Linked DNA regions of Homo sapiens: regions 1, 2, 3, 5, 6 and 7 are each linked to region 4. Evidence: promoter capture Hi-C in 16 types of primary human blood cells and fetal thymus (Javierre and others, 2016). All regions are on one chromosome and are shown on one strand. Each heading gives the region's core, a stretch centred on a gene start or on the middle of the fragment in contact. The rest is flanking DNA. Distances are from core to core; before and after follow the strand shown.

Evidence for each region. Contacts are between HindIII fragments. The CHiCAGO score rates a contact against its expected background, and 5 or more counts as called.
Region 1: a contact is called between a fragment that was not itself captured here and the fragment with the promoter of KCNJ13 in region 4, in 1 of 17 cell types (M2 macrophages). The highest score is 6.0, in M2 macrophages.
Region 2: a fragment that was not itself captured here is called in contact with the fragment with the promoter of KCNJ13 in region 4 in 1 of 17 cell types (monocytes); the score reaches 6.5 in monocytes.
Region 3: a fragment that was not itself captured here is called in contact with the fragment with the promoter of KCNJ13 in region 4 in 8 of 17 cell types (M2 macrophages, M1 macrophages, M0 macrophages and 5 more); the score reaches 15.6 in M2 macrophages.
Region 5: a fragment that was not itself captured here is called in contact with the fragment with the promoter of KCNJ13 in region 4 in 4 of 17 cell types (M2 macrophages, non-activated CD4 T cells, M0 macrophages and 1 more); the score reaches 6.6 in M2 macrophages.
Region 6: a contact is called between a fragment that was not itself captured here and the fragment with the promoter of KCNJ13 in region 4, in 1 of 17 cell types (naive CD4 T cells). The highest score is 5.7, in naive CD4 T cells.
Region 7: a contact is called between a fragment that was not itself captured here and the fragment with the promoter of KCNJ13 in region 4, in 4 of 17 cell types (monocytes, naive CD4 T cells, naive CD8 T cells and 1 more). The highest score is 6.0, in monocytes.

What each region holds. Positions count from the first base shown.
Region 1 is chr2:233,531,575-233,534,948 of GRCh38, forward strand. USP40 (ubiquitin specific peptidase 40) reads right to left here. Exons shown (of 32, transcript NM_001365479.2): 11 at 1,905-2,205. Among named protein-coding and RNA genes, the nearest start is that of USP40, 34 kb to the right of the region's middle. The HindIII fragment of the contact is 2,926 bases long and covers 235-3,160 here.
Region 2 is chr2:233,435,075-233,438,866 of GRCh38, forward strand. It overlaps DGKD (diacylglycerol kinase delta), which reads left to right. Exons shown (of 30, transcript NM_152879.3): 6 at 744-850; 7 at 1,242-1,367; 8 at 2,303-2,405; 9 at 3,143-3,305. Among named protein-coding and RNA genes, the nearest start is that of DGKD, 82 kb to the left of the region's middle. The HindIII fragment of the contact is 2,776 bases long and covers 536-3,311 here.
Region 3 is chr2:233,290,720-233,293,953 of GRCh38, forward strand. ATG16L1 (autophagy related 16 like 1) reads left to right here. Exons shown (of 18, transcript NM_030803.7): 15 at 1,409-1,558; 16 at 1,668-1,715; 17 at 2,537-2,638. Among named protein-coding and RNA genes, the nearest start is that of SAG, 15 kb to the right of the region's middle. The HindIII fragment of the contact is 4,043 bases long and covers 1-3,234 here.
Region 4 is chr2:232,775,244-232,778,522 of GRCh38, forward strand. It overlaps KCNJ13 (potassium inwardly rectifying channel subfamily J member 13), which reads right to left and starts at 1,322. Exons shown (of 3, transcript NM_002242.4): 1 at 1,202-1,322. The region is part of intron 8 of GIGYF2 (GRB10 interacting GYF protein 2); the gene reads left to right. The HindIII fragment of the contact is 5,243 bases long and covers 1-3,279 here.
Region 5 is chr2:233,497,907-233,501,374 of GRCh38, forward strand. USP40 (ubiquitin specific peptidase 40) reads right to left here. Exons shown (of 32, transcript NM_001365479.2): 22 at 1,973-2,009; 23 at 642-706. Among named protein-coding and RNA genes, the nearest start is that of USP40, 67 kb to the right of the region's middle. The HindIII fragment of the contact is 2,661 bases long and covers 553-3,213 here.
Region 6 is chr2:233,456,472-233,460,186 of GRCh38, forward strand. It overlaps DGKD (diacylglycerol kinase delta), which reads left to right. Exons shown (of 30, transcript NM_152879.3): 20 at 428-524; 21 at 750-857; 22 at 1,813-1,926; 23 at 3,286-3,420. Among named protein-coding and RNA genes, the nearest start is that of DGKD, 100 kb to the left of the region's middle. The HindIII fragment of the contact is 6,733 bases long and covers 1-3,715 here.
Region 7 is chr2:233,390,035-233,393,397 of GRCh38, forward strand. It overlaps DGKD (diacylglycerol kinase delta), which reads left to right. Exons shown (of 30, transcript NM_152879.3): 3 at 369-449. Among named protein-coding and RNA genes, the nearest start is that of DGKD, 37 kb to the left of the region's middle. The HindIII fragment of the contact is 5,698 bases long and covers 1-3,363 here.

The DNA of each region.
Region 1 (3,374 bases), core at 448-2,947, 760 kb after region 4:
ACAATATTTTTACCAGAACCATTTCCATATCTTTTTTTCCTCCCAGAAAAATACAAAGCCTTTTTCATTAACAGCATAGTTATGTAACTGTTTTAGATCTGGAAAGTTAATTTCCTTTGATTCACATGCAAATTAGTAACTGCTTTATTCTTATTCTTCATAAAAATGATGGTTATTCTCATTCTCTAAGAACAATATTCTCATCTCTAATAATAGATATGTCTCAATCTATAAAGCTTTTCTCACTGGGGTTTTTAACTTTTGAGCGGACTTTGAGAAGTGATCGAAAAATCTTACTAGGCCTCATGCCTGTAATCCCAGTGAGGCAGGAGAATAGGGTCTGGAGACAGGGAACCTAAGGCTGTTTCACACCGACTTCCTAGAACTAAATTGAAAGGAACACCCTAACTTTCCATTCCTAAGTAACACAAGGACCAGAGGCTACTTCCTTTGACCTTTTCTGCGCACACATAGGAAATTGGCTGACCCCAACGAATCAGACAGTGGGTGGAGTCTTCGTTTGCAACTCTGTAACCATTTCAGCCTCTGAATGGTTGCTGTTGGCAACAAATAAGACTGAGCAACAAATCAGACTGATTGCTGGTAGGGTCTTCGTTTGCATCTTTGCAACTTCACTCCAGCCTCTGAATGGGTGTTGCCTGCAGCCAATCAGACTGATTGCCAGCTATGTCTTCGTTTGCAAATAAGTGTAACGTTGTAACTTCAACCTAGCCTCTGATTGGTTGCTTTCTGCAACCAATCAGATGTTTGCACATGATAGTGACCTTTGTAACTTCACTTCAGCCTCTGGTTGGCTGCTTTCTGCAACCAATCAGACTGATGGCGGGCTCCCAATTCATTTACATGAGGTGAGCATGAAGTGGCCAATGGGAAACTTCTAGGGGATATTTGGACCGGAGAAGATTCTGTATCTGGGCCCTTGAGCTGCTGCTCAGGCTGCTTCCACACTGTGGAGTGTACTTTTGTTTTCCATACATCTCTGCTTTTGGTCTTTTGTTGCTTCATTCTTTGCTTTGCTGGGCGTTTTGTCTAATTCTTTGTTCGAAATGCCAAGAACCTGGACAACTTGCACTCATGACCCTCTACCGATGACACCAGCATTTTGGGAGGCTGAGGTGTGAGCATCATCTGAGGCCAGGAGTTCAAGACCAACCTGGGCAATACAGCGAGACCCTGTCTCTAAAAAAATGAAAAAATTAGCCAGGTGTGGCAGCATGTACTTGTAGGCCTAGCTACTAAGGGAAGAGAATCACTTGAGCCCAGGAATTAGAGGCTGCAGTGAACAATCATGCCACTGCACTCCAGCCTGGACGAGAGAGTGAGGCTGCATCTCTAAAAATAAATAAATGAATAAATAAACAAAAAGTCTTATTGAGAAACAGGAAAATAAAGGAGAAGATATGAAAAGATATAAATAAAGGATAAATAATAGAAATAAAAGATATAAATAAGCAGAAAATAAAGGAGAAGATATAAAAGAATCAGGAAAATAAAGGAGAAGATATAAAAATAAGACCAGGGCCACTTAAAATTCAAAGGCAACATATGGCTGAATGACAGAGCCAAGTCTGAGCATATGGCAATCGCACTCAAGTTTGCCAACACAAGAAGGTTTTATGCTATCCAAGGAAATCCAATTTTGAAAATGTAATGATGATCTTACATTATTACAGGGTAGAAAATTAAAGAGAAGTATATAATCTTTATAAAATGACAAATTGTTAGATTTCATTTGGCATAATATAGTTCTTGTTAGCTTTAAAATATTTAAAAATGTTCCAAGAGTAAACCTTTTTTTAAAAGAATAAAAATTCAAACAGCATTCCATGTTTATCTTCTAAAGCCATTAACTGAAACAAATAGGAACATTTTTCTTTCCATACCTTCAGGGGGTCTCTGCAACTGGGATTTCCGATAAAACAACATGTAGGCACTTTCTTTACCCTGAAATTGCTGTTCAATATCCTTTTCCCTGATTGGCTGGACTTTAGAATCATTTATATCAAACCAGTGGGGACAGGAGATGCTATTGTTTAAACCTGGGGATTCTGGAGGAAGCATCTTGAAAATTTGCTGGTCATTCCTTTGGAAATCAGACTCAGCCTGGAGAGAACTATTCTTCAAGAGACGAACTGTACTTTCATCTGAACTGAGTAGAAATATCTGAGAATGGAGCTGTAAGAACTACACAGAAACAAAAAAAAAAATGCTAAGTTAATTATTTAAACAAAAATTAGATGTGATTAAAAAATGTTTTCTTCCTTTCTGTGATTAGATCATTTAACTTCATCTTTATTTCTGACCTGGCCAGCTACGGGGGAAAATCCATCTAGGTATCATAAAACATTTAATAAAACCACAGTGCTCTGTTAAATAGTCTGATAGTGACATCCAGGGAGGAGGTCGCTATGCCACAATCTAAAAAGCATTTTGATTACACCTCACTAGTGCTGTTTAAAAAAGTATTTAACTGGAACAGATTAGGTAGAACAAACACTTTTGAAATATTTAAAAGCAATCTAAACAAGGCACAAAACAAAGGCAATCACACAGTGTACCACCATAAAAGATAATTTGAAAACCCAGACAGACTCTGTTGGGATAAGGTAGTAATTATCAACCTAAATTATCTTTTAACCTGGACTAAAGTGAATGTTGTCTGTTCTAAAAGCTGGCAGACAAGCTCAGAAAATCAAAGCATAGTAAGGGTTAAGTCACAATCCCAAAGTTCTTGCTAAAGGATTAAGAAGAAAAAAATTTCTTTCTCCATTGCCTGTCTCTACCTCCCCATCCACTACGCCCCTATCCTCTCACTCTTTAACCTCTGTCTGGCCTTGAGTCTCTTTCTTTTCTCTCAGCCTAATTTACTTTATATAGAAAATTACTTGGGAGTTAAATTTGACACTTGGGTACTTCATCAATCACCCTGGAAAGGTGATTTGCTAATTTTTCTCTTGGAAAGAAAGTAATTTGTGGTAATGTCAACTCTCTGAGAATCAAAAGTATTATTTTATCAACAAACAGAAGAGTGTAGGGCATAACCCAAAGACAACATTGTTAACATTGTGTATGAGAACAGAGGGTAAAACAGCCTTGCAGCTAGTTTGTTTAAGGTACAAAAAAGTATCAACAACTTGAAAGCTTTGAGTAATGAACTTTCTTTTCATTTTTTGTTCTTTGGGTTTTTAAGTAATGAACTTTCTATATAGCCACGTTTTTCTTTGTTTGATAGTTGAGAATTAACTCTTTTAAGCCTCAAACATCAGTGCAGTCTAGTCCCATTAATGACAAAGAAATTTTCTTAGACTAATCTTCCTAATAAAAATGATAAACTCTAGGCAAAAAAGGAAAAC
Region 2 (3,792 bases), core at 674-3,173, 660 kb after region 4:
CCTTGATAAATCATTTTTTATAGTGCTCAGAGTGAAAAGGGAAGTGGTGGGTGGCAAAAGGAGAAATGGGAAATCTAGAGCACACAGAGGGAAAGGCACTGAAGGAACAGTGGTCGGCCCCTGTGTCTCACACTCTGCAGCCGGGGAAACGGGGCTGTGCATATATGGACTGAAAGTGTGTTACAGACTTAGAGGTCAGGGCTGCAGGGTTTGGGCAAGGGCATTCAGTCTGGTGGCAAAGCAGTGGGCTAGAGCAGGGCTTGTTAGCTATAGCCTGGACCACACCCTGCCTCTGCCTGTTTTTGTACAGCTCCCACGCTTCAGACTGGCTTTTAAATTTTTAAATGATTGGAAAAAATCAAAAGAAGAATCATATTTTGTGACACATGAAAATTACATGAAATTCAAATTTGTGCCCGTAAAAAAACATTGTCTCTGGCTGCTTTTGTGCTACATGACAGAGTTGATTAGTGGTGACGGAAGCTGGTTGCGACCTGCAGAGTCTCCACTGCTCACTCTCTGGCCTGTTACAGAAAGCTTACTGATCCCCAGCTTTCCCTGCCGCTGCCGGTCCCACCGCCATCAGCCTCTAAGCGTATCACAGTAGTTCACTTATAAAATGGGAGTGCCATTGGTTCCTTCCTTGACTTTTCTGGAGCTGGACGGTTCTCACAACACTGCTCAGCATGGGAAGCTCTTGGCACAGACACAGCTTGTAGGCTCATGTGCCCCTTCTCTCACAGTGTGCAAATTTAAGGCCCACAAGCGCTGTGCTGTGCGTGCAACCAATAACTGCAAGTGGACCACACTGGCCTCGATCGGGAAGGACATCATTGAAGATGCAGATGGGGTATGTTAAGAAATACCACCTGTGGGGCCCTGAGCCAGGGTCCCCCACCTGCACGGCCCCATGCAAGCCTCCTCCCTGCCCTCCCTGCCACTGTTTCATTTGAGATGGTCACACTGGCATTGGGTGGCACAGTGGAAATTATATGCGGTCTCCGTGTGGTTGTCGCACCCCCGAGCTCCATCCTGTCCCTGTGAGTCTTGTTTGCACCTCCGACAGGTGCTATGGGTAGATGGTACTTCACAGGCCCTGCCATCCCTTCCCTCACTGGCCATCAGGGAAGGAGCTTGTTCTGGGAAGAATGCCTTGGCTGAGTTCACAACGAGCATTTCCTGGCTGCCCTGGACGTGGAACCTTGGGAGCGTCCCTAGTGCGTGCCTCTGTTTGGTTGCAGATTGCAATGCCCCACCAGTGGTTGGAAGGAAACCTACCTGTGAGCGCCAAGTGCACTGTGTGCGACAAGACCTGTGGCAGTGTGCTGCGCCTGCAGGACTGGCGCTGCCTCTGGTGCAAGGCCATGGTGAGTGTGGGCCCTGCGCCCGGGCTGGAGGGGAGGGCTTGCTCCCTACCGTGCCCATGCGGGCCTTGCGGCTCCGCATGATCTGCTGGATCCTGGTAAATTAATCCCAGAGGCCCCTCCGGCTGAGAGTGGGTTTTTGAACTGTTGGGTCATTCTCCTTCTTAGCTATGTTTTGGGGTATTTCTTCCTTTTGCATTTATTCCTGTCTTTAGACATATGCAGATGTGTATTGTTATGACAGATGTCACCCTGCATCATGCGGCACTGTAGCCGGGTTGTGAGGGGTCACCTGGGACAATTGAGCTGGCCGCCTCTGTGGTGTGGAAGCAGGAAAGCTGTAGAGGCCATTTGGAGCGGCGTTGGCTCTGGGCAGTGTTGACAGTGAGCACAGCCATGTGGAAGGGGTGCAGCCCAGTGGCCTCCTGCCAGGTCCTGGGTCTCATCGTTGCTCTGGGTGGTGAGATGTGCTTCCAGGGAGAGACTCAGGGAGCCTCCATGTACTTGCTTCTGGGTTGGTCATTGTGAAGTGGCTGCTGCAGTCACTTGCCTAGCACATCTGGCTGCCAGGAGGAAGCCAAGACACAGGGGACACATAGAGGCACATGGCCCCAGGAGCCCTCACCCTCGTCCTGAAAGTTTGAGGTAGCTGTGGTCGAAGGGCCAGAAGGTTGGGTACAGGACTGTAGCTCACACGGTGTGAAGCATGACTGGCTCCTGCCGGGTATTTCCGTGTTATGCCTTCTCAAGTGCAAAGCCAGGGCCCAGGGCCCCCGATGATAGCAGGCCGGCCCAGGGCCCCTGATGGTAGCAGGCCAGCCCAGCTCTGAAATCACCTGCCTCCCCCGAGGCCAGCTCATCAGCTACAGGGCAGGAGGATTTCTGGTGTGTGTGAAGGATGCCAGTGACCCTTGGTGACGCGGGGACTCTTGTTTCAGGTTCACACATCGTGTAAAGAATCCTTGCTGACCAAGTGCCCACTTGGCCTGTGCAAAGTGTCAGTCATCCCACCCACGGCTCTCAACAGCATCGACTCCGATGGTGGGTACCACACATGCTTATCCTTCTCATGCACGCCCACACGCTTCCTTCTCCACGCACTTTCTCTTCTCCAGCTCTGGAGTTGGTTATCTTGGTGAGATGTCAGCAAGAGGTCAGGCACAGCTGTTGGGGGTGCTGGAGGAGTTGCACAGAGCGGCACACGGCGCCCTGATGCTGCGGCATTGCCCTTAGATGGGCCAGAGACCCAAGCCTGGCACTTGACGTGGAGGTGATGCTGTTGAGTGGCACCCAGGCTTAGACAGGCCTGAGACCCGAGCCTGGCACTTGACGTGGAGGTGATGCTGTTGAGTGCAACCCAGGTCTGGGGCCTTCTCCGTCATGAGCCATTGAAGCTGTGCCCCATCTCTGCCTAGCACATGCTGGCACACTGGCTTGCAGCTGCTCTCATGTCTGGCTGGGACATGGTGGCACCTGTTGACAAGTACTGGTGGAAAGGGGGATGTGGGGTACATGGCTCAGAGGAGATCAAGAAGAGAAGACAGCAGAAAGGTGGCATTTGGACAGCTTGTGAATGTGGAGGTCAGATGGATGGGGCTCCCGGCCTCACACATGGAGACCGGCTGTGGGGAACTGTTCACTGACCTCCTCCTGACTTACAGGTGTGCATGTGTCAGGTGTGTGTCCTTTGGGGGGGTCTGCTGCTGCTGATTCCATCAGTGGTGCCCTCAGCGTCTTCCGTGGCCTATATATTTTCTTCTGTTCGTTCTTGCGTCCAGGGTTCTGGAAGGCCAGCTGTCCTCCTTCTTGCACAAGCCCACTGTTGGTCTTCGTCAATTCAAAAAGTGGGGACAACCAGGGTGTGAAGTTCCTCAGAAGATTCAAACAGCTACTAAACCCCGCCCAGGTCTTCGACCTCATGAACGGAGGCCCACACCTCGGGTAGGAAGCTTGTAAAATATATCTTTCTTGGAGTTTTAAAAATTGTGTAGATAGTGTGTGCTTGTTAAAAAAAAAAAGTTCAAAGACACAAAGCTTTAAATAGGAAAGAAAAGTTGAACTGCTTCCTTCCCAAATTGCACTTGCAGAGGTGCCCACTCTTAATAGAGGTGCATGGCCTTCCAACTTTGAACACAGTGCGCGTGTGCACACACGTACATACATCCATGTACACACACCCATGCACGTGCATCTTTTGAGCCAATCAGGATTCTTCTTTACCTGCCGTTGCACAAATGCCTTCTGTATGTGTCTGCATACAACGTTGTGGGTGTATTTTCTTTCATTTTATAATTTTTTATTTATCTGTCTATCTATCATCTATCTATCTATCTATCTATCTATCTATCTATCTATCTATCTATCTATCTATCTATCTGTGGGTGTATTTTCCTGGCGTGCCTCGTTCTTTGTAACAGCTGCCTAACAT
Region 3 (3,234 bases), core at 188-2,687, 520 kb after region 4:
TCCAGATTTCTCCGGAGACGTGAGTAGGATTCACACGGCAGGAAAGCCACTCAAACTTTTGAGTGTGTGTCTGGTGGCTGATACATGGCAAGTGAGCAGGAAACAGGGCAGAAGCCAGTGAGGGGGCTATGAGGGGTTGAAATCAGGTTGCCACAGGCTTGATAAGCCATTGTCAAATCACTCGATCTTGTAAGTCGTTGGGTGTTTAGCAAGGAAATGGTTGCTTTGCAGGAGTCTAGTAGACGACTTTGGTGGCATTTTGAGAGGGCATATTAGGGAATAGGAAACCAATAGAGTTGATAAGGACCTAAGTTCAAGTCAGTAGAGGAACATGTGGAGGAGAGAATCTATTTGAAGGAGAATTTGGACAGGGCTTATTGACAGGTTGGAGGAAGGGGAAGACAGGATGGAGAGTAAATGAGGACAGCCTCCCAGCAGGGTTGTAGAGAGGGTGGGGGTACAGGGCCTGTGGTGATAGATGATGCTTTGAAACACAGCATGGCACCAGAAAGTCCTGACAATGCTCATGGTTCCTGGACACCACTTCACATTTTATTCATAATCTTTAGTTTGCTTTTAAAACCTGAAATTGGAACTTGAAAGATGGAATTTGAGAGTTAAGTTGGATGTTCGAAGTCTCTTAGTCCATCCCATAATTTGACAGGTGAAGACCCTGAGTCCCAAGGAAGTGGAGTAGCTTGCTTCAAGCTGCATATTTAGCAACAATAAGATAAATTCTTGCTTAGTTAAGGTGGGAGGTAGGAAAAGGTTTCATTGAAAGCCTACAACAAAATCATCACAGAACAGGTCAGCACCCCCTTTGGCTATGAATGTCACCAACAGGGCCCTGCCCAGGGTGGCTGTTAGCCACCCTGGACATGGGCCACAGCACAGAGAAGAAGAGGGAGGTGCGTAGGGCCGTGGCTCTGCCCTGGCTTTCCTGGCCCCATATCTGGAGGTGGAGGGCCACAGAGCCACAGTGAATAGGGCAGAAAACCTGCAAGAGGCTAGAGTTACACTTACAAGGCAGCCCAGGCCCACTAATGCAGGTTTCTTTGCCAACTTTATCCAAAAGTTGAAATCACATCACTGAAAATAATACGAATTGGGTAGTAGCCCTAGTTAGCTCATGCTGATCAGAAACCGATGGGCGATTGTTGTCATTCCAAAAATGGATGAGGAAATTCTTACCAACTTCAGAGTTCTAGTCTGGGAATGACTGTCTTAGGGTCTGTTGATGGGAAAGTAAGAAAAGCAGTCACAGGTTATTAGAAGACTGGGAACACATTGACTGCGCTGGCAGAGCGTTGCATGCTAGTTGAATTGCAGTGCCTTTTTTTTCCTCCACGGCATGATGTGAAGTAGTTCTGGCCTACGTTACATTTCTCAGATCTGTTCTCCCTCTTAGATCAGAGAGCATAGTTCGAGAGATGGAGCTGTTGGGAAAGATTACTGCCCTGGACTTAAACCCAGAAAGGACTGAGCTCCTGAGCTGCTCCCGTGATGACTTGCTAAAAGTTATTGATCTCCGAACAAATGCTATCAAGCAGACATTCAGGTAACTGAAGATGTGCTGGTTGCATGAAGACCAGAGGCCCAGCCCTGCTCTCTTAACGTGCTGCGTGGCCTGAGCTCCCTCAGTGACAGTGCCCTGTTGTTTGTTTCAGTGCACCTGGGTTCAAGTGCGGCTCTGACTGGACCAGAGTTGTCTTCAGGTTAGTAGTGACCCACCCCCCGCCAATTTGGTTCATCACAAAGAGTCCTGCATGGGCATTTTCCCACTGGGGATATAGAGCTAAATTTTGTTCAGTGCCCAACCTATGTTTCCAGGAGTGTGCCTGTAAGTTCATAATTGCAGGCCACCATTATTGTCTCTTCCTTTCCAGTGTTCCTTTTGTGATTACATGAACCTAACGTGTTGTACCAAAAAATAACAGTTGGCTGGTTGCTTTGTTGTGGGTGAGCCCATTAGGTTCACTTCTCATCACTCATTCACGCAAGAGCTGTTGGAGAGCCTTTAGAAAAGGGCAGGAGTGGCCGTGGGCCTGGGGCGGGACTGAAAAGGCTTTTTGGAGAAGGGTGTGCAGGTGGTCTGCAGTTTTCTGCTCCTTGTTCCCTTCTTCCATGTATCCTGCTTCTTCCAAATACCTTTCCAGGCTCAGTTGCTAAGATGTTTCTTTTCTTCCCTCCTCTCTTTGAGGCATGTAACAAGGCAGTCCATGGGCTGAAACCCTTAGCTATGTGGAGGTTGGCTTTGATCTCCCTATATGTTGTTTTGTTGAAGTCTGTAGATGGTTAAGGACTTGGAGCCCCAAGAAGCAATGTGATGCCACTGTTCATTAGCCGGACGGGGCTGAAATACTGGGGAAAAGCAGATTTGGCTGGAAGGGCCATGACTAGCACACATTCTGAGGTCTGGGTACACAGGAGTGGTCATCAGTGAAGAACAAACATTCCTTCTTGGGAAAAAGGCCACAGAGATGCTGAATTGGGGGTGGGGAATTGACAACCTTTCTTTTCTTACTGTCTTCTGTAGCCCTGATGGCAGTTACGTGGCGGCAGGCTCTGCTGAGGGCTCTCTGTATATCTGGAGTGTGCTCACAGGGAAAGTGGAAAAGGTTCTTTCAAAGCAGCACAGGTAAGATGAACCCTGTCTCAGCCCCCCGTTGCGTTGTGAGCAAGGCCTTTGACTTCATCTCAGGGGTCATCCGGTTTAGACCTCAGTCGGCGCTGTGAGGGCACTGTCCGCCCACCTGCTCGGCTGGCTGAGCTAGGTCAGTGGAGAGAAGCTGGGGCCACTCACACAGCACAGCAGGCCACAGTCTACAGAGTACGCCAGGTAGAGCGGTTAGAGTGGCAGCCGCTGGAGAAAGGGTTATAGAAACACATCCCTGACTCTTTGGTTATGTCCACGTCCTCTGTGTCTCCTTCCCCTTCCCTACTCTCCTTCCTTTCCGCCTCCCTGTCTCCCTTGGAAGTCCCTGTTGTCAGTGCATTTCAGTGCATTGACGTGTCCTAAACACTGATCTCCACACACCTTCTTTTATCTTCCACCTGATAGGCAGGCCCCAGACCCCCTTTTTTCCTAGCTTTGTTCTGCCCACACAAGCCCACCTGCTAGTTGGAACCCAGATACCATTTTCCTTCAGAACCTCTCTCCCTGTCCTTGGGCAGCAGCAACTGCTCCCAGACCTAACCAGTGCTGACCACCACTGCCCGGCTCTTCAGAGGCAT
Region 4 (3,279 bases), core at 72-2,571:
GCCTTCAGGCTCTAGCACTGTTGGTTACATAGCTGTGTCATTTTGGGCAAACCACTCAATCCCATTGGCCTGGCATCCTTAGATTAAAACAAAGAAAGTGAAAAAAGAGGGAATTATGATAATAAGATTTCTTAAAGCTCTACAGACTTATGTAAACAAACATATTTCCACTTCCTACAAAGGATACAAGTTTCCTATATGATTTCTTTTATTTCTGTATAGTTTGATGTCTGCTCGTATGGTTTAAAAAATTATACTATTGTTACCTGATATTTAAGTCTCATCAGCTGATCCCAATAGAAAGTGAGGTGGAAGGTTGGGAAGGTTTGCTTCTATTGCTGTGTGTGGGCTGTAAAATATTTGCCCATTTATAAATTATTTGGAGGAAAAATAGTACCTATTAAAAAATGATAGGCAGCTTCACTGATCATCAGAATTCATTCTACTCATTGGGTTGTAGCACTTAAAAGTATGTATTTTCTGTTGCCATGATAAAAAATAGTATAGTTCATACTGAGGAGTTAAGATAAAGGCTATAACTAACAAACATTAAATGAAGATGGCATTACTATGTATTTGTTCATGTCTGGTGTAAATACTTTAAGACTATATTGAAAGTCTTATAATGATTTCTCCTGCCCTCCACAATTAGGGCAAACACTATTGAGTTCTAACCCTGTTATATAAGCTCAGAGATTCTATTTTAATTTCTCAGTTGCAGAAGTATCTATTAATTTCCGCAATAATTCCATGCTTAAAAATTTACGATTAGGATACTCATCACTTTCTTCTTAGATTACAGAAGTAAAAACAAAGTGGCTTATTCTTTTGGCATTTGTTTTTTTATGCTCATTTTGGGTTTTTGAAATTCCTTCCAAAAGAAAAAGACTTTTTTTTTCCTCAAGCCACTGAATTTTTTTTCCTAAGGCCTTTATCCTCTACTGATATATTGTAATAGAAAATTAGTATACATTTAATAAAACAGTTAAGAAAATTTCCAGTAATACATTCAATATGGCTGTTATTGCATTTTTAAGATTTAAGGGAAAAGAATATAGAAACCTTACTATCCTACACTATAGATAATGTCTTTGTTTTAAAAATCTGTTGGAAGTAATCTAGCTCTGTTGCTATTTGCCAGTCAGTTTCTTTCCCTGTTTCCCATAAGGAAAGAAGAATGGATATTATTGCATGTACTCACCAGTTCTTTTGCTGGGTCAGCCTTTATGCCAAGGTAGGTCTTAAGGAAATTTACAGAGTCTGCCTTTTTGATCAGATAATTTTAATCTACAAGTCTAGTTTGTAGGTTCTCTTCTTGGACTGGTTTTACAGCTTACATTCCTCTGTTTATAATGTTGTGGGGGCTGGTTTCAGCTGAGGTTGATGTGATTGGTCACTTAGCCTGCAGGGGGGCCAATTAGCTCTGATCATGTGGAAAAGAATGCTGGTTTGTTAGGAGGTCTTTCTTTACCCAACACAAACCTTAACAACTCTGGAGAAAGCCTCCAGAACTGACTTGGAGAAGGGGTGCATTTTTTCCCTCTAATCAGGACCGGTCTTTAGTAAGTTTGCATAATCTTACTTAAGAGTTTTTTTGAAAGTTCAAAGGGATAAAATTCCCTGCAAGATTTTTCAGCCGTCTTTCCTTATATAGCATGTTGAAGTGTGAGATATTTCCTTTACTAATCTTTTTTTTTTTCCACCATGTCTTTGGGGAAGATTTATTTGGATAAGGACTTATAGGCATAAATTAATGCATTGATTTTCTTAGTTTTCTTCTCATGTCTCATCAGAATGGCTACCATTAGTTCCAGAACTAGTAATATAGATAATTACGTGAAATCTTTTATTTTTTTGGTTAGGAAACAAACTTTTTTTTTTTAAAGGCTGTATACAAAGACCTTGAATAGGAATAAAATTAATTGTTCTGTACCTGATACTTTAAAAAATGCACACCTGTGGGAAAGAACCGAAGAATTTTCTTAAGGCTTATTTTAATGATGTTTAGAAGATGTTTTCCTGATCAGTGTGATGAAGTATAGTGTTAATAAAACATAGTGTACAGTGTACAGAAAATGTAACACAACATTGAAATAGTGTTTAGCTGGAAAATGTGATCCAGCTTGTTGGAACCCTGAAACGTGCTGTGGTATGGCTTTGTGCAGTGCCTTAGTGAACAGTACTTTTCTCCTCCTCCGTTAGCTGCTGATTTTAAAACTTTGACCAAATGTCACATGTAAGAGGATCTGAGAAACAAAGACTGTGATTGTTCAAAGTAAAATCTTGGAAGGCCTGCTGGGAAAATTATTAATGTAGACCAATATAATGCTACTTAGAAAGTGAAATCCGCCTTTGTAGAATCCTCTCCGTCCCCCCCCCGCCCCACAATTTAAAAAATATATTAATTCCTTCTTTGTTTTATTAGTACCAAATACTTCAACACAAGTTCAGACACAGCATTAGAAACACTGACCTTCAGAACTAGGGAAGGTAAAGTATAAAGAAGGATTTGTGGTGTGATGCTCATTCCCTGCATGTACTGGTAGGAATTATAATGTGTATCAATTCCCAGCTAACAAATTGCAGAAAAACAGAACAACACAACAACAAAATACTAGAACAAGTATAGTATAATACTGCTTCTAGAAAGCAGAAGCACTTGAGTGTATCTGTCATGTGTTTTGAATATACATTGTATATTTTTTATTTTCATTTTTTTTAGACATAGAGTCTTGCTGTGTCACCCAGGCTGGAGTGCAGTGGTGTGATCACAGCTCACTGCAGCCTCGACCTCCCAGGCTCAAGTGATCCTCCCACCTCATCCCCCACCCCCTGCAGTAATGCCACCACATCTGGCTAATTTTTTATTTTTTGTAGAGGCAGGGTCTTGCTGTGTTGTCTAGGCTGGTCTTGAACTCCTGGGCTCAAGCTGTCCTCTCAATTCAGCCTCCCAAATTCCTGGGATTACAGGCATGAGCCACTTCACCTGGCCTGAGAATACATATTATAGTAGGCAAGACAGTTAAGGATTTTATTAAACTTAAAAGTCTTTTTCCATAGTATACTTGGTTTCAATATATTGAGACAAAAATGATTTGGCAAAATGATCTTCAATTAAGAAAGAAATGTCTTAAGTGAAGCTAATTTCTGGATCTCTACAATTTGAAAGTCTTGCTATGGTCTATAAACAGTGATTCCTACTGCTGTGAATATTGTAGACCAGCTCTGAAGTGCCCACTTAGGAGCATAGCTCTCCCATTACAATAGCCTGAGCATTTA
Region 5 (3,468 bases), core at 633-3,132, 720 kb after region 4:
AAGAACAGGAAGTAGGCAGGTGAAGACTGGGGAAAGGGCGGCTGACCACAGCTCCCTCAGACTCCCCACAGAGCTTTATTTTGGGTCTTCTTCTAAGGCTACGCATTTGAACTGGGAAATATCATGCTATTTGGACCAACAAGATGACCAACTAGATTCCAACTCTCCTGTGATAAAATTATTCCTAAGGCTACCCTAACAGTTTGGCTGGATCGAGAGTTTGGACCAAAGCCTAACTTAGGAATGGTTAGTAAGAAATTCTGCCACCATTACCTTACAGAGAAACTCTGAGATCAAAACATTCAGGGGCCAAAACTTCAGAGTGTATCTATAAAATTCCTTCATGAGCTCAAATGTCATTTGTTCTGTGAAGTTCTCTGCCTTCTCATGAACTGCTCCTCCTAGAGGCATACTCTCATGGCAAGGGGGTTTACCACAGATGTCAGAAATGTTCCCACTGCACTGTGACTTCCCCTTTATCAAAAAACTATAGTAAGAAAAAAGTAAAATAGACCCATTCATAGATATTTGTATCCTATAGAAAGTAATTAAAGCTTTCTCATGAGTGGAATGGGTACCTTGTACGAAAATATGACATAAATGTAATCATACGAAAGTACAATGTATAGAAATCATCTTACTTCTTCACATAAAGGCTCTCCAGCTTCATAGCACCAATCCATTTTTCGTAAATGCCAGGCATCTCCTATAAAGGAGTCAAAATTGGGATAAAAAAAATTCAAAGTTAGGTGAGACGTTGCGTGTAACTTCTAGAAGAATGTCTTGCACCCAGAGCACCTTAACTTCCTTTCCAGATAATAAAGCTATGGGCCTCCATGTTAATGAAGTCTGAGAACAGCAAAGTGTGCTACTGAAATCAGAATGAGGTCTCATCAAGCTCACTGACATGATCTCACCTGGAAAGTTGCTTCAGTTATCTTAGATTTATTTTTTTCATTCATTTTACATTCCGTCATCTATACCACAAAAATACTGACATGAAACAGAATGCACTGAAATTTGGAATCAATAAAATTGAAAGGAATCAGTGGAAGACCTGCGTGGCTCCAGGTGGTATACATCTTAGCGTTCTTTTTATTTTAAGTTCTGGGGTACATGTGCAGGATGTGCAGGCCTGTTACACAGGTAAACGTGTGCCATGGTGGTTTGCTGCACCTATCAACTCATCACCTAGGTATTAAGCCCAGAATGTATTAGCAATTTTTCCTGATGCTCTCCCTCCCCCACTCCCACCCCCCCATACACCAACAGGCCCCAATGTGTGTTATTCCCCTCCCTGTGTCCATGTGTTCTCATTGTTTGGCTCCCACTTATAAGTAAGAACATGTGGTGTCTAGTTTTCTGTTCCTGCATTAGTTTGCTGAGGATAATGACTTCCAGCTCCATCCATGACCCTGCAAAGGACATGATCTCATTCCTTTCTATGGCTGCACAGTATTCCATGGTATATATGTACCATATTTTCTTTATCCAGTCTATTACTGATGGGCATTTGGGTTGATTCCATGTCTTTGCTATTGTGAACAGTGCTGCAATGAACATACATGTGCATGTATCTTTATAATAGAATACTTTATATTCCTTTGGGTATATACCCAGTAATGGGATTGCTGGATCAATGGCATTTCTGGTTCTAGGTCTTTGAGGAGTTGCCACACTGTCTTCCACAATGGTTGACCTAATTTACATTCCCACCAACACTGTAAAACATTCCTACTTTGTACCTTTGCTGGATCCTATCTAAATTCTCTACTCAGAGCTATACCATTAGTTTTCTTTCAGCATGCCAACAAGAACCAGGAGAATTCATTATGTACATATGGAAGTGTAAACTACTTTTTATTTCTCCACACCCTATAAATTTTTTTTTCCTACAACCCTGGAGAAAAAAAAAGTCAAAAAAATTTTTATTAGGCTTTTAAGTAATATGTCATCATGGTAAGTAACTTACCTTGTAGGCCAGATTTCTTCAGCATTAACTTTAAACACTGTAAAGAAAAACAATGTCCAATGTTAGTTTTCTGTTTCTGAGTTACAGTTCTAGGACAAACACCCTTTTTGGACCCTAGGCCTATTTAAGTCTGACTATATTTAATGATTCTTGAATAGGCAAGGATAGACATAGTTAAGAAGATAATACACGAGTCAGCTTTCCTTTCTAAAGGCTAGATGGGGCCAATTCAGGAAGAGGAAAAAGCAGTTTCTGGTGTTTGCAAGCAGGACTTAGTTCAAAGTTTCATCCACCAACTCCCAGGTTTGAACCATGACTTTCTTCCTGTAAGGATTAACTGTGTGTCTTTGGCCAGATATGATTAATCAAGTTAATTTCATAGACATTAAACTCTGAATCCTATAAAAGGCGAGATTGATAGCATTTGGGGAAAGTTCTCCCTTCTCTCTTCTCTTTATGACTGTCTGAATTTCCCCGTTTTCCCTAAATATAAAAACTCACAAGAATTGTGCAAGCTGTGATGTCATGGCATAATGCAAAAATGAGACAATATTAACAAAAGTTTAAATAAAACAAAAATAGTAATTAAAACAATTTCTTGAGGGAAAAACATTGCTAATTAAATCTTGGACAAGCGAGCAAATACAATTTGATTTCTATTACACTAGAGCAAAAGAGAGCAAAAATAAGGAAGTCACTGCTGTACTGTTTGTAATAAAAGAAAAATGGCAAAAAAAACCCCACCAAAATACACATTAATGGGAGATTTTTTAAAAAGTAGGAAATGTCTTAAAGCAGTTCAAAGAAAAAAACAGATTCATATATATTGGTCTTAAAAGATCTTTAAAATATTTTAAGTGAAACAAAGTTCTAGTATAATACATGCAAAGTGATCCCATTTATAATTTAAAAGAAATCACAGAAGCAAAGCACACTCTTCATTTCTATATGTATGTATATAGACACATGCTGGTATAGGCACAGCAAAGGTCTGGAGGGACACATACTCTGCTGATGTGGATAAGATGATGTTATCTGATTGCAACAGTGACTTCTAGAGAAAGGACTAGAATAGAGTGGTAACCAAGGGGGATTGTTAATCCCCTAGAAGTTTAAAAAGTGAGAAGAAATCCATGATTACTTGTATGACAAAAAATAAGGCTTTAAAATATAATTATAGATTGTTTAGAAAATGATGATAAAAACACAGTATACTAAAATATGGTGGATGAATGAAAGCAAGCTTATATTCTAAGAAAACTTAAAGCCTTAAACATTGTATTTAAGAAAAACAATCAAACAATTGAGCAATCAACTTAATTGTGTTTTAGGAAGGGGAAATAGAGAGCATAAAAGCCTTATTTCAGAAACAGCAAGAAGGCCAGTGTGGCTGAAGCACAGTGAGTAAGAGGGGGAAATGGTTGGAGGTTTGAAAATATAACAAAAATGATACCAGAGAACCAGATCACATAGGCCCTTGTGCAGACATTCAAGAC
Region 6 (3,715 bases), core at 1,091-3,590, 680 kb after region 4:
TGTGGAGGGTGCCTACAGGTGCTGGATTATGCATGGAGGATTATGAGGAGTGTCTTCTCCTTGGTGCTTTTCTATATTTTCCAGTTTTTCTATGGTAAGCATAATTTTTTAGCCAGAAAAAATCAGGATGTGTAGAAGTTTTTTTATAGGGTTCTATAATGTTTTAACTTTATGTATTTACCTTTCAGGGTATGATTACTTTCTTGGCAAAATGTTACTATTGAGCAAAATTTCCTATTGGTAAACGTATCTTTTTATGCATATCTGCAAAAACAAAAATGTGTCCTTCAGATGTTACTGCTGTAAATAATTGCTAAATGTAGCTGATTTGTGGGTCAGATGCTGTTCCCAGCTTTCACAGAAATGACTCTGGTTAACTATACGAAGAAAGCCCAGACCTATGGCAAGTCTTTGCTTCTGTTTCTAGGAGCCGAACCAAGAACATGATGTGGTATGGAGTTCTTGGAACCAAAGAGTTGCTGCACAGAACCTACAAGAACCTGGAGCAAAAGGTCTTGCTGGAGGTGAGTGGGAGGGTCCTTGTCACCTGCAGGCTGGCCTCCATCCATCAGCAGACTGCCAGGCCTATTGCTTCTCCTGTTGACCATTTCCTCCATGCACAGGGACTTGCCTGGGGATGCCCTGGCCACGGCTGTGCTCCTGAGCCCCTGGCGGTGGGAAGCTGGTAGAGAAGGAGGGGCTGACTCATACCTTTCTCTTTTCTTTTGTTCTGTGTCTCTGCTGCTCAGTGTGACGGGCGACCCATCCCACTCCCCAGTCTTCAGGGAATTGCTGTCCTTAACATTCCCAGCTATGCCGGAGGAACCAACTTCTGGGGGGGTACCAAGGAAGATGATGTATGTATGGGGTGTGAGCGGGTGGGCCTGAGCTCAGTGGGGAAGAGCTGTCTGAGAGCAGGGGGGTGTTCTGCTGTGGCTGGGGTGGATCCAGCTCTTCTGTTGTGCCAGCAGTGGGGTTGCCGTGGAGAACAAGATAGACAGGGTCCCCCACCCAGCTCATCGTCTAGAGGGCTGAGCAGAGCAGTTGTGTCAGTGAAGGTGGTCAGTGAGGGTCTGTGGTCAGCAGATGTGGTCAGCGGGTGTGACGTGGAAGGAGGGTCAGGGAAGGTGTCTGGGAGGCCAAGACCTGAAGGATGAGTTGGAGTTGGCTAAGTTAGGTGGGCAGAGGAGAGGGGGAGGCTGTTCCAGGCAGAGAGAATTGCACAGATGAAGGCTCAGAGTCAAGACAGGGCAGGCACATGGAGGATGGGAGAGAGGTGCCCCGACTGCAGTGGGCAGCAGGGGCGTGGAGAGACAGGAGAGGGCTGCAGGGCCTGGGTCACACTGGGCTGTGTGAGCTGGGGAAGAAGTTTGGAATTTGTGTTAAGAACTGTGGGAAGGTGTTGATAGGTTTAAACCTGGTTTAAACCTTCCTTTGTACGTAATAGCGAATAGAAGTATTCAGCGCTTCCTGCACACGTGGTGTGTGCTGGCCCCAGTCCTGGCACTCTGCAGCGTTAACTCACTTGGCCCTACTGATGGCCCTGGAGGAGCGTGCCGTTAGTTTCCCCATTTTACGCATGAGGAAATGGGGGAGAGAGAGATTCAGTAACTTTGCCGAGATGAGAGCTGGGATTTGGTCCCAGGCAGCTGGTTTCAGGGCCTGCAACATGAAGCCCGTCAGGAGTGCAGTTACCTGGTAACTTCTCGCCAGCTAGGAGGGGCTGACCCCCAGAGGGAGGGAGTGAGGGTAGGGGCGGCCTGTGCTCGGGGATGTGTGGAGTGGTGGTCAGCTCTAACGTGTCCCTTGCAGACTTTCGCAGCTCCATCATTCGATGACAAGATTCTGGAGGTGGTCGCCGTGTTCGGCAGCATGCAGATGGCCGTCTCTCGAGTCATCAGGCTACAGCATCATCGGATCGCCCAGGTAGTGGCCATGGTCCTGGGGTGTCTGGCCGAGTCCCCAGCCCGGAGTGTGCTAAATTCTGGGGCAGTGCATGGAGCCTGGGAGGGTGGGCGCTTTCCAGGGCCATGTGGCTGCCTCATGTCCTGTCCTGGACAGCTCGTGGCCCCACTTCCTGGGCCAGAGCCCTTTCCTTGTGCTATGCTTGACAGTTAAATTCTCAAGATAACTCTTTTTAATTTTTTTTTTTTTTTTTGAGACAGAGTCTTGCTCTGTTGCCCAGGCTGGAGTGCAGTGGTGCAATCTCGGCTTGCTGCAACCTCCACCTCCCTGGTTCAAGTGATTCTCCCGCCTCAGCCTTCCGAGTAGCTGGGACTACAAGTGCCCACCACCATTCCCAGCTAATTTTTGTACTTCACCATGTTGGCCAGGCTGGTCTCGAACTCCTGACCTCAAATGATCCACCCACCTTGGCCTCCCAAAGTGTTGGGATTACAGGTGTGAGCCACTGCACCCGGCCAAGATAACTCTTTCAAAATGTGTATCCTGCTTGAACCACAGCCTTGCCTGTCCCCTCTGAGGTGGGATGAGATAGAGCAGACCCAGGCTGGACTCTGCCCGTGTCTGCAGCTGTCAAAGCCGCAGTGGGGACGGAGCCCATGGCTCTGATGTGGGGTGTGGGAGGATTTCCAGCTGGGGCCCTCGATCATGGTTCTGAGGCCGAGTGGTGAAGGGCTGGGGGTGCCCCCATGGCTTATTTCTGACAGCAGCGATGGGCTGAGGGCAGTCTTTCTGTGAGGATGGGGCAGGACTCTGTACCCAGGCACAGGCACTGGGGCGGGGGAGGGTGCTGATGACACCCACTGGCTGAACCCCACCCTGCGACTGTCTGGTGTCTTCCAGCACTCTGTCTACCCTTAGCTGTAGGCTGCTTGAAGTTCACAATTTTCACTCTTTGGCAATGTTTGTTGTTGAAAAGGAGGAACGGGATGATGATGGATGGCTCATCGTCATCCACTGTGCCATCTGCTCTTTTCTAGGGGTGTTTTCACGTGGCAGGGGCCCAGTGGCTTCTGGGAGCTACAACACCCCTGCCCCTGGGTTCTGACACCTGTTGTCTCAGCACCAAGGTCTCCTGCACTGACTGCTCAGTGAGGGGATGGGGCGGGATGGGGCGGGACAGTGGGAGAACAGACCCTCGGTTGAGTGACACAACAGCAGAAGGCTAGCTGCAGGCGGAGCGCCATCCCAGAGGCAGAGGTGGGGTGTCCTGCAAGGCAGGGACGGGTGTGTGGAGCAGGAAGGTCATGGTGGTGCTGATAGCACTTTTAAACCCCTGGGGGTTTTGGCTCAGCATGAGTAATGGCTATGATGTCTGCTCAGTGTCGCACGGTGAAGATCTCCATCCTTGGGGATGAGGGCGTGCCTGTGCAGGTGGACGGAGAGGCCTGGGTCCAGCCGCCAGGGTACATTCGGATTGTCCACAAGAACCGGGCACAGACACTGACCAGAGACAGGGTAAGAGCGGCTGCCCGCGGTACCTGGGTGGGGTACAGGGCTCACCTGTGGGCTCTTGTGTGCACTGTTAAGAGCTGGAGCTTTTTGTGTTTTGTTCTAGGATTTTTTTTTTTTTTAAGACACAATGATTAAGCTAATAGGGCAGTAATTTCTAGGACCATCTCCTTCCCCTAATGTTAAAAAAAAAAAAAAGTCCTATTTGTCTCTTTCTAGTTGTGATCTCGTTGGCATCCCCATAGTGTCTGTCGCAGTCAGATGCATGCTTCAGAGCAGCAGGTGTAATTGGGCTTTCGGG
Region 7 (3,363 bases), core at 23-2,522, 610 kb after region 4:
ACACTGTGTGAGAACATACTTCACATGTAAAAGTGAATACTGGTATTGACAGTAGTAAATACAGAAATACCAGCATTGGGTTGTTTGCTTTGGTTCTCTCTCTTTCTTCCTTCACTAATGCAATGACAATGTTTGTAGATTTTTTTAAAAAAATCATGGCACTATACCTGTGAGCCCGAGCTTTTGGTTAGAAGCAGGTGGGTGGGTTAATTTGGATTGGCTTATTGATTGGATGCTACAGTTTCAAGGTACTGGGGCTTCTGTGGGTGCTTGTTAGGGATCATTGGGGTGTGGTGGGCAGCGCTGGCTAGTGCTTAGGGATGTACCTGTCTTTATGTGCCTTAGTCCCTGTGTTTGTCTCTTTCTAGTCAATCATATTTGATGAGGTGGATCTGACAGATGCCAGCGTAGCTGAATCCAGTACCAAAAACGTCAACAACAGTTTTACGGTAAGATTCCTCAGTCATGCCTTTCTTGATTCTTCACTGAAGTTGGCTTTCCTTTTTGATCTGAACATGTGTCCAAGCAGTTCAAACGTTTTCATTCTTTTCTTACTGATTGGAATGATTGCTGGTAAAATTTGAATTTAATGCTGAAAGTAATACTGTGGTTGGAGAATAACCAAGAATTTGGCATGCATAAGCACAAAAGGACAATAGGGACCAAATGAAAAATTTTTATATGTGTTTTGGTTCACGTCTGTTTTGTTTTTTTTGAGACGGAGTTTGGCTCTTGTTGCCCAGGCTGGAGTGCAATGGCGTGATCTCCAGCTCACAGCAACTTCCGCCTCCCGAGTTCAAGCGATTCTCCTGCCTCAGCCTCCCGAGTAGCTGGGATTACAGGCATGTGCCACCACACCTGGCTAATTTTGTATTTTTAGTAGAGACAGGGTTTCTCCGTGTTGGTCAGGGTGGTCTCGAACTCCCAACCTCAGGTGATCCACCCTCCTTGGCCTCCCAAAATCCTGGGATTACAGGTGTGAGCCACCACGCTTTGCTGGTTCACATCTTACTACCTCTGTACAGAGTTTTGTTTTTTGTGATTAATGTAGAAAATTTGGAAAATGCAGACAAGTATGTTAAAGCAATTAAAAAGCAGCCATAACAGCCACCTCAAAAAACATTGAATGTTAATATTTTGGTGTATTTCTTTTTTTTTTCCTTTTTTATGTTTAAACTTTCTTCCTTCCAAATTTATAAAAGTTATGTAGGACTTTCTGCAAAAGTTCTAAATGCACAGAATCATGTGATCTCACCACTTGGAAGTGGCCAGCTGCTTACTCTACAGTGTTTATCTTTATTTCTGTATATTTATGTCTTTACCTACATGTACCCATGAGATCATGCTGAACCTTTTGGTTTACACCTGTGTTTTTTTCCCCCCCCAGGACAATTTATAGTAGAGAGTTGCTCATGTCAGCTGATCTAAATGTTCATGATATTATTTAATGGCTATAGTAGCATTTTCTTGTAGGATTTTATAATTTAGGCTTTACGGGCTGACTTTAGCGCCTGCCTGTGTAAGGTTTGACTCTAATAACAGCACTAGAACTTTTAAAGCTGTTTTTCTTTATGTTATTAGGCCATCCCATGTAGACAAAAAGTGTGTACCCTAATTAAAAAAATTATTCTTTTATAATTCAGTCAAGGTGAGTAATTTTCCTCAAGTTTAGGATCTGATATTTTGGGTTAGTGCTAGTTTCAGGTGCTTTCAAGTTTTGTTTTATTTTATTTATTGATGGATTCATTGTTGATGTTGCCAATACAAATGGGATTTTCCTTTCTCTGTCTAAACCTCTGCTTATTTTGTGTTGATTAACTGCTCTTATTTTACTTGGAGTATTTGTAGTTTTCTCTATTAATTTATTTTTACCAGCTGGGAAGAGACATTTTTAACCACATAAATAGATTTTTCTTTGATTCGTGGTTTTTAGAGTCTTTAATAGGAGTAGGTGTTGAATTTCTTTGGAGTGTTCTGAGCATCAGTTGATTAATTAATGAATTTTTTTGAGATGTTGTCTCCCTTTGTCACCCAGGCTGAAGTGCGGTGGTGTGATCTCGGCTCACTGCAACCTCCGTCTCCCAGGTTCAAGGGATCCTCATGCCTCAGCCTCCCTAGTAGCTGGGATTATAGTCGTGCACCGTTATGCCCAGATAATCTTCGTAATTTTAGTAGAGATGGGGTTTCACCATATTGGCCAGGCTGGTCTCAAACTCCTGGCCTGGAGTGATCTACCCGCCTGAACCTTCCAAAGTACTGGGATTACAGGCATGAGCCACTGTGCCTGGCCCTGGGCATTAATTTAGATGTTCATTTTGGTTTCAGTTATTTGCATATTTCCTAATAAAAAAATTATTCTTGGTAATGTTGAATTTTACTCCTTTATCTTGCAATTTAGAATTTTCCCACTGGTATGTATGCATTTGTTTTGGGTGAGAATGTAGCCTTATTGCAGTTTTAAACAATTGTTTTTTCTGTTTTTAATTTTAATGGATACATAATAGTTGGACATACTGTGTTTTGATTTCAGAGTTAAACCAACCCCATAAAATTCATTTAGTAACTTTCTATGAGTTTATGTTTTCTGCAACATTTTATGTAGCTTTGGGATTGGTTGTTTCTTAAGTTCGAGAGAATTTATTTTAAATTATTTGTCAAGAAGACTTTTTAGGGAGATAAGGCTGTAATAGAAATAAATCCTAAAATATTTATTTCTTGCATTTTGATCATTTTTTGAACCTTTTCACTTTTTGAGTCCACATCTGTAATTTACTTTCCCACAAATTTCACACCTTCAAAGTTAGTAGCGTGTACTGTTGTGTAGTTTAAACACCTGTGTCTCTGGTTGAATCTCCTTTGCATTTCTAATTTTATTAGTTTAGTTTGCTTTTCTTGTCAGATTTCGTAAACTCTAGCATTTTTGTTTTCTTTGTTTTTAAAGAGAACTAGTTCTTAGATTATTGAACAATTCTCCTTTTCTGTTTCCTTTTTTATTTTTTTGAGACGGAATCTTGCTCTGTTGCCCAGGCTGGAAGGCTGGAGTGCAATGACGTGATCTTGGCTCACTGCAACCTCCACCTCCTGTGTTCAAGCGATTCTTCTGCCTCAGCCTCCTGAGTAGCTGGGATTGCAGGCACCTGCCACCACGCCCAGCTAATGTTTTTATATTTTCAGTTAGAGACGGGGTTTCGCCATGTTGGCCAGGCTGTTCTCAAACTCCTGACCTTGAGTGATCTGCCTGCCTCAGCTTCCCAAAGTGCTGGGATTACAGGTGTGAGCCACCACGCCTGGCCTGTTTCCTTTTTTTTTTTTTTTTTTTTGAGACAGGGTCTTGCTCTGTTGCCCAGGCTGCAGTATAGTGCT